Linked DNA regions of Homo sapiens: region 1 is linked to region 2. The links are contacts of gene promoters, found by promoter capture Hi-C in blood cells and fetal thymus (Javierre and others, 2016). All regions are on one chromosome and are shown on one strand. Each heading gives the region's core, a stretch centred on a gene start or on the middle of the fragment in contact. The rest is flanking DNA. Distances are from core to core; before and after follow the strand shown.

Evidence for each region. The method cuts DNA at HindIII sites, captures the fragments that hold promoters and counts their contacts. A CHiCAGO score of 5 or more calls a contact.
Region 1: a contact is called between the fragment with the promoter of NCK1 here and the fragment with the promoter of ARMC8 in region 2, in 1 of 17 cell types (naive CD8 T cells). The highest score is 6.1, in naive CD8 T cells.

The regions. Positions count from the first base shown.
Region 1 is chr3:136,859,287-136,865,608 of GRCh38, forward strand. It overlaps NCK1 (NCK adaptor protein 1), which reads left to right and starts at 2,922. Exons shown (of 4, transcript NM_001291999.2): 1 at 2,922-3,067. NCK1-DT (NCK1 divergent transcript) reads right to left here and starts at 2,777. Exons shown (of 3, transcript NR_110177.1): 1 at 2,461-2,777. RefSeq lists enhancers at 1,851-1,900, 2,461-2,520, 3,581-3,660, 3,671-3,790 and a silencer at 2,881-2,940. The HindIII fragment of the contact is 9,923 bases long and covers 1,874-6,322 here.
Region 2 is chr3:138,183,604-138,189,593 of GRCh38, forward strand. ARMC8 (armadillo repeat containing 8) reads left to right here and starts at 3,698. Exons shown (of 22, transcript NM_001363941.2): 1 at 3,698-3,996. The coding sequence starts at 3,952. The HindIII fragment of the contact is 21,816 bases long and covers 1,479-5,990 here.

The DNA.
Region 1 (6,322 bases), core at 1,672-4,171, 1.3 Mb before region 2:
TGGTGGTAAGCTACATGAAGGCAAGAACTGTATTTCTGTATTTTACCTGTTGTATTTATATTCACACCTTCTGCCTCCATCGTATGTTAAATATGTAATTAGAATTAAAATTGAGTCACGCTGTGCTAACAGTTTGATGGGTGATTTTGCAGCAACAGTTTTAACTCTGGACAAGTTTCTTCAAAAATGAATATAATATCTCAGTCTGTAAACTTTATAAAATGTATCAACAAATAAAACCATTGTATTAGCTTGGGCTGCCATAATAAAATACTAGATTGGGTGGCTTACACAACAGAAGTTTATTTTTTCAAAGTTATGTAGGTTGGGAGGTCCAAAAGAGGGTGCCAGCATGGTCAGTTTTGGGTGAGGGCTCTCTCTCTGGCTTGCAGATGTCTGTCTGCTTGCTGTGTTCTCAAATGGAGAGAGCTCTCTGGTGCCACTTTCTATAAAGACATTAATCTTATGGGATTAGGGCCCCACCCTTATGACCTAATTTAATTTTTATTACCTCCCTAAAGGCCTAGCTCCAACTAGAGATGGTCCCTGACTTAAGATTTTTTTGACTTTATGATGGTCCAAAAGCCATATGCACTCTAGAATCTGTACTTTGAGTACCCATAAAACCATCCAGTTTTTCATTCAGTATTTAGTAGATTACATGAAATACTCAATACTTTATTAAAAAATAAGCTTTGTATTAGATGATTTTGCCTAACTGAAAGCTAATGTAAGTATTCTGAGCATGTTTTAGGTAGGCTACTCTAAGCTATGATGTTTGGTAGGTTAGAAGCATTAAATGCATTTCTGACTTAAGATCTTTTCAACTTAAGGTATTTTCAGTTTATGGTGGGTTTATTGGAACATAACCCCTTTGTAAGTTAAGGAACATTTATATAGTCACATTAGGAGTGAGGGCTTCAGTATGAATTTTTGGGGGGGATGCAATTCAGTCCATACCAGTCATGATAAAATATGCAGTTATTTAAACCCTTAGAATAAACTCAAAATTCACCGCCATTATTCACTTTGGATGCTAATAACAGAATGTAGACATAGAGTAGCTGTTGCCCAGTTTCATGGTCTACTTGTCCCAGTCAACCTGAGGATAGTACAGCATAAATAGGTAAATTTGTGCTTGACCTTGTGATCCTACATATGGCAGGCTGTCTTAGTCCCTTTAGTGTTGCTAGAAAGGAATACCCAAAGCTGGATAATTTAGAAATAGAAAAGGTTTTTCGGCTTATGGTTCTGATGTCTGGAAAAGTTCAAGACTGAGCATCTGCATCTGATGGTAGCCTAAGACTGCTTCTACTCATGCCAGAAGGCAAAGGAGAGCTGGTGTGTGCAGAGATTACATGGCCAGAGAGGACGCAAAAGAAGAAAGGAAGTGCGACGTTCTTTTTAACCAGCTCTGGTGGAAATAAAGAGAACTCATTTACCCTCTCCCCAGGGAGGACATTAATCTATTCCTGAAGGAACCACCTCCATGACCCAACACTGCCCATTAGTCCCCACCTCCAACATTGGGGATCAAATTTCAACAGGAGGTTTAGGGGAACAAACATCTAAATTACAGCACAGGCCAACCACATGCATGCATTACCAATCACGTAAATAATTTTGAAGTTAAATGCAGAAAACTGCAAACTTTTGAGGCTGATATCCAGGGCCAGGATTAAAATAAAAAGTATTAATGCCTTAAACAGTATTTACTGACCATCTACCCTACTGCAAGGCCCTAGGGAGAAACTGAACAGACATGGTTACTGATTCAACGGAGTTTACAATCTAGGTAGACATACAGGCAAACCATTTCAATAGCTCGGATGGAGAAAACACCTGTGCTCCAAGGAAGGTACCTAACTGAGCAAGCTTCCCTGAGGAGCGATCCTAAACTGTGCCACAAAGATGGTTAAGAAGAGATGAGGCGGCTGGGCGTGGTGGCTCACGCCTGTAATCCCAGCACTTTGGGAGGCCGAGGCTGGCGAATCACGAGGTCAAGAGATCGAGACCATCCTGGTGAAACCCCGTCACTGCTAAAAATACAAAAACATTAGCTGGGCGTGGTGGTACATGCCTGTAATCCCAGCTACTCGGGAGGCTGAGGCAGGAGAATAGCTTGAACCCGGAGGCGGAGGTTGCAGTGAGCCGAGATCGTGCCACTGCACTCCACCCTGGCGACAGAGCGAAACTCGTTTCAAAAAAAAAAAAAAAAGAGGCAGGTTACGGCGCGGGGGCGGGGAAGGGGGCCTGCAGCACCGGCGAGGGGAAGAACCAACTTACTGATGCCTCAGCCAGTGGCTGGAGCCCTAAGAATGGACAGACCTGGCTCCGAAGGTCCTCTTCATAACACTACTGCCGCCAAGAATGTAAGCTGCCCAAGCACGAGGACACTTTTAGAGGGCCCTCAGACTCAGCTTCTTTTGGTCTGTGCCTCAAATTAAGCACATGTCTTACATTTCTCCCAGGTCCCAATTTTCAGGTCTGCTTTTCTTTGTTTTTCTTTGTCGCTCCCCGCTCCTAAGAACCTTCGGCTGGGATGACATTCTTCAGGTGCAGAAACCAGGGGGAAGCTCCCAGAGCAGTGGGGGCTGAACTCAGGACACAGTCATTTTTGCTGTTAAGTCTCTCCTGCGGCGCTGAGGAGGCAGGCTCAAAGTAACCAACCAGAGCAGCCGCAGAGGGAAAAGCTAAGACAGTTCTGGTCCGGCCCAGCGCTTCTCACCCTCTAGCTCTCTACTCTCCGCCGCGCAGCCTCCGCTCCCTCCACATCAGGCACGGCGCTTGATTGACATGAGGGCCCGCCCAATCCCAGTGCGGCAGAGACCGTTGTCGCGTCAGGGACCGGGGAAGGGGGCGACTGAACCTATCAGATTGGGTCCAGAGTGGGTTTCCTGCCCGCGCGGATCCGCCTGCCCACCGCGCGTGCCCCGCCTCTCTCCCAAGAGCTACGCGGCGGCGGCGGAGCGCAGGCCTCGTGCCGTTACGGCCATCACGGCGGCCGCAGTGGCGTCCTGGAGCCCTCCTCAGGTGAGCTGGAGCTGCCCGGCTCGGCAGCGGGAAGGTGAGACGGCCTTGTTGGCAGGCAGACACACACACACCCCCCTTCAGTCCGCTGTCCGTCCATACAGCCTGTTACTCGCTGCGTCGCTTCCTCTTCTCGCGCTGAGTTAGCCCCGGGGGCGCCGTCTGCAGGCTCGGAGCCGAGCCGGAGGGGGCGCGGAGGCTGCTCGGAGGGTCCAGACTTCTGCACCGGGATTCCGCGAGACCCTCGGGCCGTTGCCCCAGGGAGCGTGACCCCGCGGCCTCCTTGTCAGCCCCTGGAGCGCTGTGTCGGGCTGAGAGCCCGGGCGGCCGCCCGTGCGAGCCTGGGAGGTCGAGTGTGCGGCGCGCTGGTTGACTTGTCTGTTTTCTCATGAAAAAGTCCTTTTGCCAGCTGTGGCGTAATCCGAGGCCGGGAAGGTAGGGACGTGGTAGGAGGAAGGGCGCTCTCACCTCCAGCCCGAGAGGAGGGGAGGCGTCAGCCTGCGCGGTGCTGCGGGTGGACATCTTCGGGACGCGCCCTCTCCCCTCCCCCCACCCACCGGCCGTTTTCTAGTCTGGGGCTGTGACTTTAATGGTCTGGACCTGCTTCAGATTCGTACGCGAGTTGCTGGGGCTGTGAACTTTTGACTTGAGTTGTAATATGTTTGGTAAAACAAAAAACCATTTCGATAGGTTTTGTAACCTTTCTTCTGTATTAACATACAAGTTAAATTCGCCGTTAGAAGCTCAGGAAGCTGGGTTTTGTTCAGGGGTGAGGACGTAACCGTAGGAACGCTCTCGGTGTCAAACTGATGGACCCGGAGTCACCTGAAAATAATTATGCACGTTAGATTAGGTAAGAAGCCCTAGAAATTAGGAAAGAATTAGGTTAAAGAGAATTTCCTAACTCCTCTTTGGGTAGGGAGCAAAGCAGCTCAATGTCCTCCCAAAACGGGTGTTGCCAAAAGGTACTCATTTTTAAAATTTTACTTTGATAGACGTATGACAAACCAACTATAACGATTTCTTCAGCACCTGGAAACCAGTGTGCCTAGACTCTCAGCCTTCGGCGAGGTCACACAGTAAACGGAGAAATAACCTAAGAAGAAAGTTTTGTTTGGTAATTGTCAATAATATTCGTTCTTTTCTTTTTAAAACACTTAATTTTCTTGTGGGGGGTGGAGTCTGTGATATTCTTAAATAGGCATCCCATTCACAACTTGATAGTAATATGCACTGGTTGATAAATGGTGCTTTCTTTTCATCTTGACCACAAACTCTGAGACTTCTTTGGGAAAATTGTGATCTGTGGAAATTGGCTGTAATATCCATAAACATAGTTTGCAGAGTGTTCACATCTACTCAGCTGTTGGCTCATGTATTAAATTTTAAAATGTGTACTTATTTTTCTAGGCATTATCTTTTGTCCAGGTTTTGACAGTGCTTTCAGGTCCATCTAAATAAAATTTGAAACCTACGTGTAATGTTTTGTTCGATACTGAGGGAGTCCAGGCGGGGTAGCTCAAACCTGTAATCCCAGCACTTTGGGAGGCTGAGGCGGGCGGATCACGAGGTCAGGAGATTGAAACCACCCTAGCAGACACGGTGAAACCCCGTCTCTACTAAAAATACAAAAAAGTAGCCGGGCGTGGTGGCGGGCGCCTATAGTCCCAGCTACTCGGGAGGCTGAGGCAGGAGAATGGCGTGAACCCGGGAGGCGGAGCTTGCAGTGAGCCGAGATCGCGCCACTGCACTCCAGCCTGGGCGACAGAGCGAGACTCCGTCTCAAAAAAATAAATAAAATGTGTATTTATTTTTCTAGGCATTATCCTTTGTCCAGGTTTCTGCAGTGCTTTCAGGTCCATCTAAATAAAATTTGAAACCTACGTGTAATGTTGGCCGGGCTCGGTGGCTCACGCCTGTAATCCCAGCACTTTGGGAGGCCGAGGCAGGCGGATCACGAGGTCAGGAGATCGAGACCAGCCTGGCCAACACGGTGAAACCGCGTCTCTACTGAAAATACAAAAATTATCCGGGCGTGGTGGCACGCACCTGTAATCCCAGCTACTCGGGAGTCTGAGGCAGGAGAATTGCATGAACCCGGGAGTCGGAGGTTGCAGTGAGCCAAGATCGCCACTGCACTCCAGCCTGGCAACAGAGCAAGATTCCGTCACACACACACAAAAAAAAAACAGAAACAAAAAAAACCTATGTGTAATGTTTTGTTAGATACTGAGGGAGACCAGGCGGGGTAGTTCAAGCCTGTAATCCCAGCACTTGGGAGGCCAAGGCGGGAGGATAGCTGGAGGCCAGGAGTTTGAGATCAGCCTAAGCAATGTAGTGATACCCTGTCTCTAAATTAAGAAAATATAAAAAAATTTAAAAAGGAAAATAATAAAGAAAAGAGATACTTAGTGATACTTCATGGTTCTGGGTTTTTTTCTTTTCTTTTTTTTTTTTTTTTTTGAGACAGAGTCTCTGTTGCCCAGGCTGGAGTGCAGTGGCACGATCTTGGCTCACTGCAACCTCTGCCTCCCGGGTTCAATCGATTCTTGTGCCTCGGCCTCCTAAGTAGCTGGGACTACAGGTGTGTGCCACCATGCCTAGCTAATTTTTTTGTATATATATATATTTTTCTTTTTCTTTTGTTTGTTTTTTTTTTTGAGACGGAGTCTCACTCTGTTGCCCAGGCTGGAGTGCAGTGGCGGGATCTTGGCTCACTGCAACCTCTGCCTGCCGGGTTCAAGCAATTCTCTGCCTCAGCCTCCCCAGTAGCTGGGATTACAGGCGCCTGCCACCACGCCTGACTAATTTTTGTATTTTTAGTAGAGGCAGGGTTTCACCATCTTGGCCAGGCTGGTCTTGAACTCCTGACCTCGTGATCCACCTGCCTCGGCCTCCCAAAGTGCTGGGATTACAGGCATGAGCCACCACGCCCGGCCTGTATTTTTAGTAGAGACGGAGTTTCACCATGTTGGCAAGGCTGGTCTCGAACTCCTGACCTCAAGCAATCTGCCCACCTCCGCCTCCCAAAGTGCTGAGATTACAGGTGTGCGCCACCGTGGCTGGCCTATATTCATTTTTCAAAAATTTTCTAGAGTTTTACATTTTCATTGCTTTGTACTTTTACTTTGTCTTATTTTACTTTTTCACCATGTGTTTTTCAAAGCTGAAGGTATATTTGATGTGATTATTATAAATCACTTGTCAGGAAGACTTGACTTAATGAATACAGATACAGTTCATTTTTAAAATCATGGTTTAATAATTTTTAGAATTTACCTTTATAATATAG
Region 2 (5,990 bases), core at 2,448-4,947:
GCGATCTCAGCTTACTGCAACTTCCACTCCCAGGTTCAAGCAGTTCTCCTGTTTCAGCCTCCCGAGTAGCTGGGATTGCAGGCAGGTGCCACCACGCCTAGTTAATTTTTCTATTTTTAGTATCGACGGGGTTTCACCATATTGGTCAGGCTTGTCTCAAATGCCTGACCTCAGGTAATCCACCCACCTCGGCCTCCCAAAGTGCTGGGATTACCGGCGTGAGCCACTGCGCCCAGCCTCACAGTCTCACTTTTATTCCTGTCTGCTGAGGGAAAGAACCATGTCTTTGTTCCACTTCAAAACTCTAGTTCAGTGCATTCACAAGAAAACCTGTAGTTAGTGTCTGTTGAACTGCATTGTATCTCCTCTATACTGTTGTTAGTCCATTTTCTTTTTTATTTAAAGTATTTCATCTGTTTTCCTTTTTTTTTTTTTTTTTTTTTTTGAGACCGAGTTTCGCACTTGTTGCCCAGGCTGGAGTGCAATGGCGCGATCTTGGCTCACCACAACCTCCGCCTCCCGGGTTCAGGCGATTCTCCTGCCTCAGCCTCCCGAGTAGCTGGGATTACAGGCATCCGCCACCATGCCCAGCTAATTTTTTTGTATTTTTAGTAGAGACGGGATTTCTCCATGTTGGTCAGGCTGGTCTCGAACTCCCGGCCTCAGGTGATCCACCCACCTCGGCCTCCCAAAGTGCTGGGATTACAGGTGTGAGCCACCGTGCCCAGCCCGTTTTCAAGTCTTTTTAAAGATTCTTCTAAATTTCTTTTGGGACCATTCAGGTTTTGGATTATACCTATCTCCCCACACTTTAAACTTTCCTATTTTTGTATAGATACATTTCTCTCTGGCTTTGTTTCTCATCTTAGGCAGTTCCACAAAGATATTTATAAAGATTTTTCAGATTTTTTTCTGGCTACTTCTTGTTTTGCATTTCATTTTTTTTCTTCATTAAACTCACACTTTGTTGTCTTTTTTTTTTTTTTTACAGAAATTAATACTGCTCTAAGAGCCATGGAACGACAGGGAGAAGTTTCATTTCTGTTTGCAGAGTAGTCAGCATGGATATTTTCCTCTCCTCACCACAGTGCCAAATTTAACTGTTTTTGTTTTTTTCTGCAACCTCCACTTCCCGGGTTCAAGCAATTCTCCTGTCTCGGCCTCCCGAGTAGCTGGAACTACAAGTGCATGCCACTATGCAAGGCTAATTTTTGTATTTTTAGTAGAGATGGGGTTTCGCCATATTGGGCAGGCTGGTCTTGAACTCCTGAACTCAGGTGATCCATCAGCCTCAGCCTCCCAAAGTGTTGTGATTACAGGTGTGAGCCACCGCGCCCATGCTTAACTGTTTTGTTATCGTCACATGCAGGCTGAATCAAAAATTCCTTTTATCTTCCAATTTCTACTCATTACTTAAGAGTGTACCTAAAGTTATTTATCAGCAAAATTTGAACTGGGAGCAAGATTCCTGATCTCCAAGCTTAGGAGTTGGCTATTCAATGCTTTCTTCCTGTAAAATGTCTATGTCAGTCTTCTGGATATAAAACAGGAAAGCCTGGGTAACAGACAGAGGTGTGAGATGTCTTGAGTCACATTTCTAGCTCCTCCCCGCTCGGATTTCAGCCACAGCAGCAGTGACAGTTCTGTGCAAGCTCAGATTTATGCTGCCTATATCCCACCCTAAGATGAAACCTGCAGACTCTGCTTTTTTGTATCAGGTTAAAGAAGCCCGTTCTGTTCTGGGCACAAATATAATCCAGGAGGGCAGGGAGTTAATAGCCCTAGGGAAATCCTCAACCAATACATATGGTATTGGTGGATGAATGCTGTAGCTTCAAGATGGACAATCCAGAGAGGTATTCTGTATGTTTTCAGAGGTGATTGAGGAATAAACAGTGGCATCAATAATGGACAATTATCTTGAATATTTATTCTTTCTTTTTTCACTCTCCCTGACCTATCAATTTTGTTCCCTGAAAGCACTTACTAAATAAACAAAATGCACCCAAATCTTCGTCCCAGGCTCAAACTAAGCCAAAAATTCGTACAACAAACATTTACTAAGTGACTGTGCTAGGCACTGAGATAGACAACCTAGAAGATAAAACTCCCAGTGCCTGTCTTGAAGTGTATAGTGAGACAAACACGGAAACAATTAACAACAACAAAACCACCCTACAATTAAAGTGAAGTATGAAGGCATGGGGGAAAGGGTATCTAACCCATGCCTGGGGGAGACAATTCCTGGAGGATGTATTGCTTGAGCTAATGGATGGAGTGTGGATCAAATACAGTTATAATGACTCTATATACTATGTATTAGGGTTATGTTCTGCCCCATTGCAGTATGCAGTACATGATGTGATTTTAGGTGGTCCATGGATGGACATTTAAACTTTTTGTAGTTAATGTGTACTAGAATAAAAATAAGGAGCACAACAAACTTGATTTCACAGAGTATTATGGTTTAGGATAAAGCCAAAAATTTTTAATGAGTTGAAATTGGCTTTAAATAAAAATATTGAATGAATAATAATACCTAGGTGCAGATTGGCAAAGATTGTGTAGGTGGTGTACAGATTACCCAAGTTTCAGAAATAGTATTATAGCAGAAGGACTACCTAAAATAAAATTCCTGCCTTCCAGGAATTCAACAGTTTGTTAAGGAACACAGACCCATAAGCAGGGGTGGTAAATGCTACACTAAATTTGGAAACCAAGTACAGGAGGAAGACAGGAAAACAGTGAGGAGCAGAGTGCGGGAGAGGCTACCAGCTACAAGACCAGTTGGAAGGCTATTGCTGTAGTCCAGGGGAGAGGTTACAAGAGCCTGAATTAGGGTGTGGCTATAGAAATGGAAGGAATACAAGTAATGTTAACAGGCCAATTGCAACCATACTGTGAAAACCTTACTGGTTGCAAGCAGTACGAAGGTGAAACTTATCCAACCAAGTCAAGGGCAGTGTTGCACACACACACACACACACACACAAAGTAGTAGGACAGCTGAATTAATCAAGTATAATTGAAAGCATACTTTTATTTAGCTTCGGTTATGAGAGTGTTTTAGTGCGAAATATTTAGATATTTGCCCCCATTTTCCCCACTTAACTCAGAAGCTGGAGAAATGTTAACACATATTGTATAACGCTTTCTATGTTCTAGGTTTTTTCTGAGAGCTTCACGTTTGTTGACTCCTCTATCCTCATTAACCTTTATTTTATAGATGAGGAAACTCAAACAGAAGGTTAGATAACTTGCCCAGGGTAAAGCAGCTGATAAATCAAGTAGCTAGGAAGAAACCCAAGCATTCTGGCTATTCTTAACACTACACCAGAATAAACGGGGCCGGCACACAACGCTAAGGCAAGTCACGTATCTGTATCGGATCGTGAAACAATCACTCTTACGGTTGGCAAAGGTTCTGGGATCGCAATTTCCCCACCTATAAAATGGAGATAACGACGCCGGGAGTTTGGTGCAGAGAGAGAGAATGAATATGAAAGTGAACTTCAAACTATGTATGTGGCTCCACGTACTACTTTTTCCAAATATGAATACTGGAATCCATAAACTGCAATTTATCAGTCCGTAAAACTCGTAGCGTCAGGGCGAGACTCCGCCTCTGGGGCCCCGCCCACCGCGAGCGGCAGGTGGGGCCGGCAGATCTTCTTTGCGCATGCGGAAACCGCTGCCCGCTTCCACCTCTAACCCAGGCTCAGAGTAGCTGCTGTTTCTGAGAGAACGATTCGTAGGACAGCCCCTGACGCCATTCCCTTTTGCCCTTCTTTCTGCGGGCCTTTCCGGTACTTGAGCGGTGTCCAGAGCGTGGCCAGTTCTCGTCTATCTGGCTGCCTTTAGGGAGCGGTGCCTAGCGTTGGCCAATAGTTGGCTGTCGAAAGTGCCGGCCCCCGCGCCGGCGCCTGCAGCAGCCGGGTGGGAAGGCTCAAGATGGCGTGCTTGTTGGAGACCCCAATCCGCATGAGCGTCCTTTCGGTGAGTGACCCGCCGCGGCCGCCCGCCCGCCCTCCAGGAAGCCTCATCCCGGTCTCCACCATTCCCCCAAGCGTGGTGTGCCTCCTGGGCACCACCCCCTGGGGTGGACCCCGGCTCAGTCTCGGGCCAGGGAGTGAGCGAGGGTGGAGAGGCGGGATAGACGGGCAGAGGGGACCGCGGCCGAGCCAAAGACGTTTCCAACTCCGGGAGCTCCCGCCGGTGCGGGTTCCCAGGATGGCGTCTGGCAGGCGGGGTGGCTGGGCTTATAGACAACTGGCTGGGCGGCGCGGCTTGGACTTTGCCAAGCGTTTCACTGAGCCTTCCTTTTAGCGATGCCGCTTCCCGGGGGCCGAACGCTCTGCCTTGTGAAGCGCCGGGCTTGCAGCCGGCCTGAGAACGAGCGCCCACTCAGCTCTCCCGGGCTTTGGCAAGAAGAGGTGCAGGCTCCTTGGCCCCCATTTCCTCAGAGCTGCCAGGCCAAGTCTGTGCGGCTTCTATCGCGTCCCAGCACCTGGGCACCGGCTGAAGCAGTTTGCTTTTTGGCAATGGTGATTCGTATCAGCTGCAACTCTTCCTAGTGTGTGTGGTTTTTTAAGCCCCTTTCCTCCGCTCTGCTCAGAGGTCGCGGCTCTGAGTCAGAGGAACTCTATGTTCCCTGTGCCTGGTATTCCGTTTTTCTTTAAGGGGAGTCAAACATTGAAGGGGGGAAAAGGGGGTGAGATTTATTTCCCCATTGTTGAAAGAAGGGAACGTATTGACATGCCAGGAAGTAAAACCTGTTTTTTTTTTTTTTAAAAAAAGTTTTTTTAAAGAAAAAGACGACTTTCACCTTTCACTATGTTGCTCTTGAACCAGGACCAGGAATGAAAGTTACTGGGAGATAACTTCGAAGGATTTTGCAACAAATTCGAGCTGTCCGACTCTGAGAATGGTCAGTTTACCAATGGTTCATTTGCTATTGTTGGAAACAAGCAGGCAAATACTGATTGACCATCTTTTAGACTTGTGGAAGCCAGTCTGATACTGAGAGGGTAGTTGGATTATAAATGACTTGTCGGGTTCCTAGAGTCTTGTAACTACAACCGGTTTCTTTTCTCTTCTCTGACTTGTCCCACAAACAAACTCACCTATCTGAAAACACCTAGGACATTTGCTTATGATTCAGGGTTAGAGCAGTGTGGCAGACCTCAACCTTGAAAAGGCTTAAGTTGTCAATACAATAATAATTTTGTGAGGCTGTCAACAGATTTTTCCCCTGATCCATTTTAGCAGTCATTTTTTCTTATTTTTAAACTGCAACTAAGGAAATACTGTTTACCTAAGTATTAGATCAGATTAGCCTGTTACTCCATCACTGACTGTAATACCCAGGAATATTCTGTGGGAGTGCAGGCCAATGACTTTTACCTCATTATGTTAAAAAAAAATAGTATGTGTCTTGGCTGTTCTCAGTTCTCCTTTAATTATTCATTTAGATTTCATTTATCCTTCAGTTCACCTGAAGTTTACTTTTTGGATGTTGTCAACTTGTATAATGCATATGATTGAAAGTTTTCATTTGTTTCACTTCCTTGGTAAATAATATTTTCTGCTTATTTTATTCAAAAACTTCTTGAAGAGTATTTTCTATTAATACTTCTATTTAGGATTTGCCTTTAGCCCTAGTCTCATTAGGGGCTTTTTTTTTTCTTTAATTAAAAAAAAAGGATTTCCGTAGTCCCAAAGTCTGGTCTATCAGATCTTCACTCCTAGAGCCTTGGGGAAGTAGGAGCTTTTGGATAAATGATTTAAAATGTTTCAATTCACTGATTTTACTAATTTAAAGTGAAACCTGTACCTTTCAAAGTACTACCCAGAGCACCATGTTTTGAAATGCAAACTAGAACAGGAAACATTCATCAGAAATTATCTTGAATGGTTGATTCCTTTAATAAGCTACAATGTACCAGTTACGTACAAGCTCTGTATTGTATACGTTAGAGAATGCAAGGATG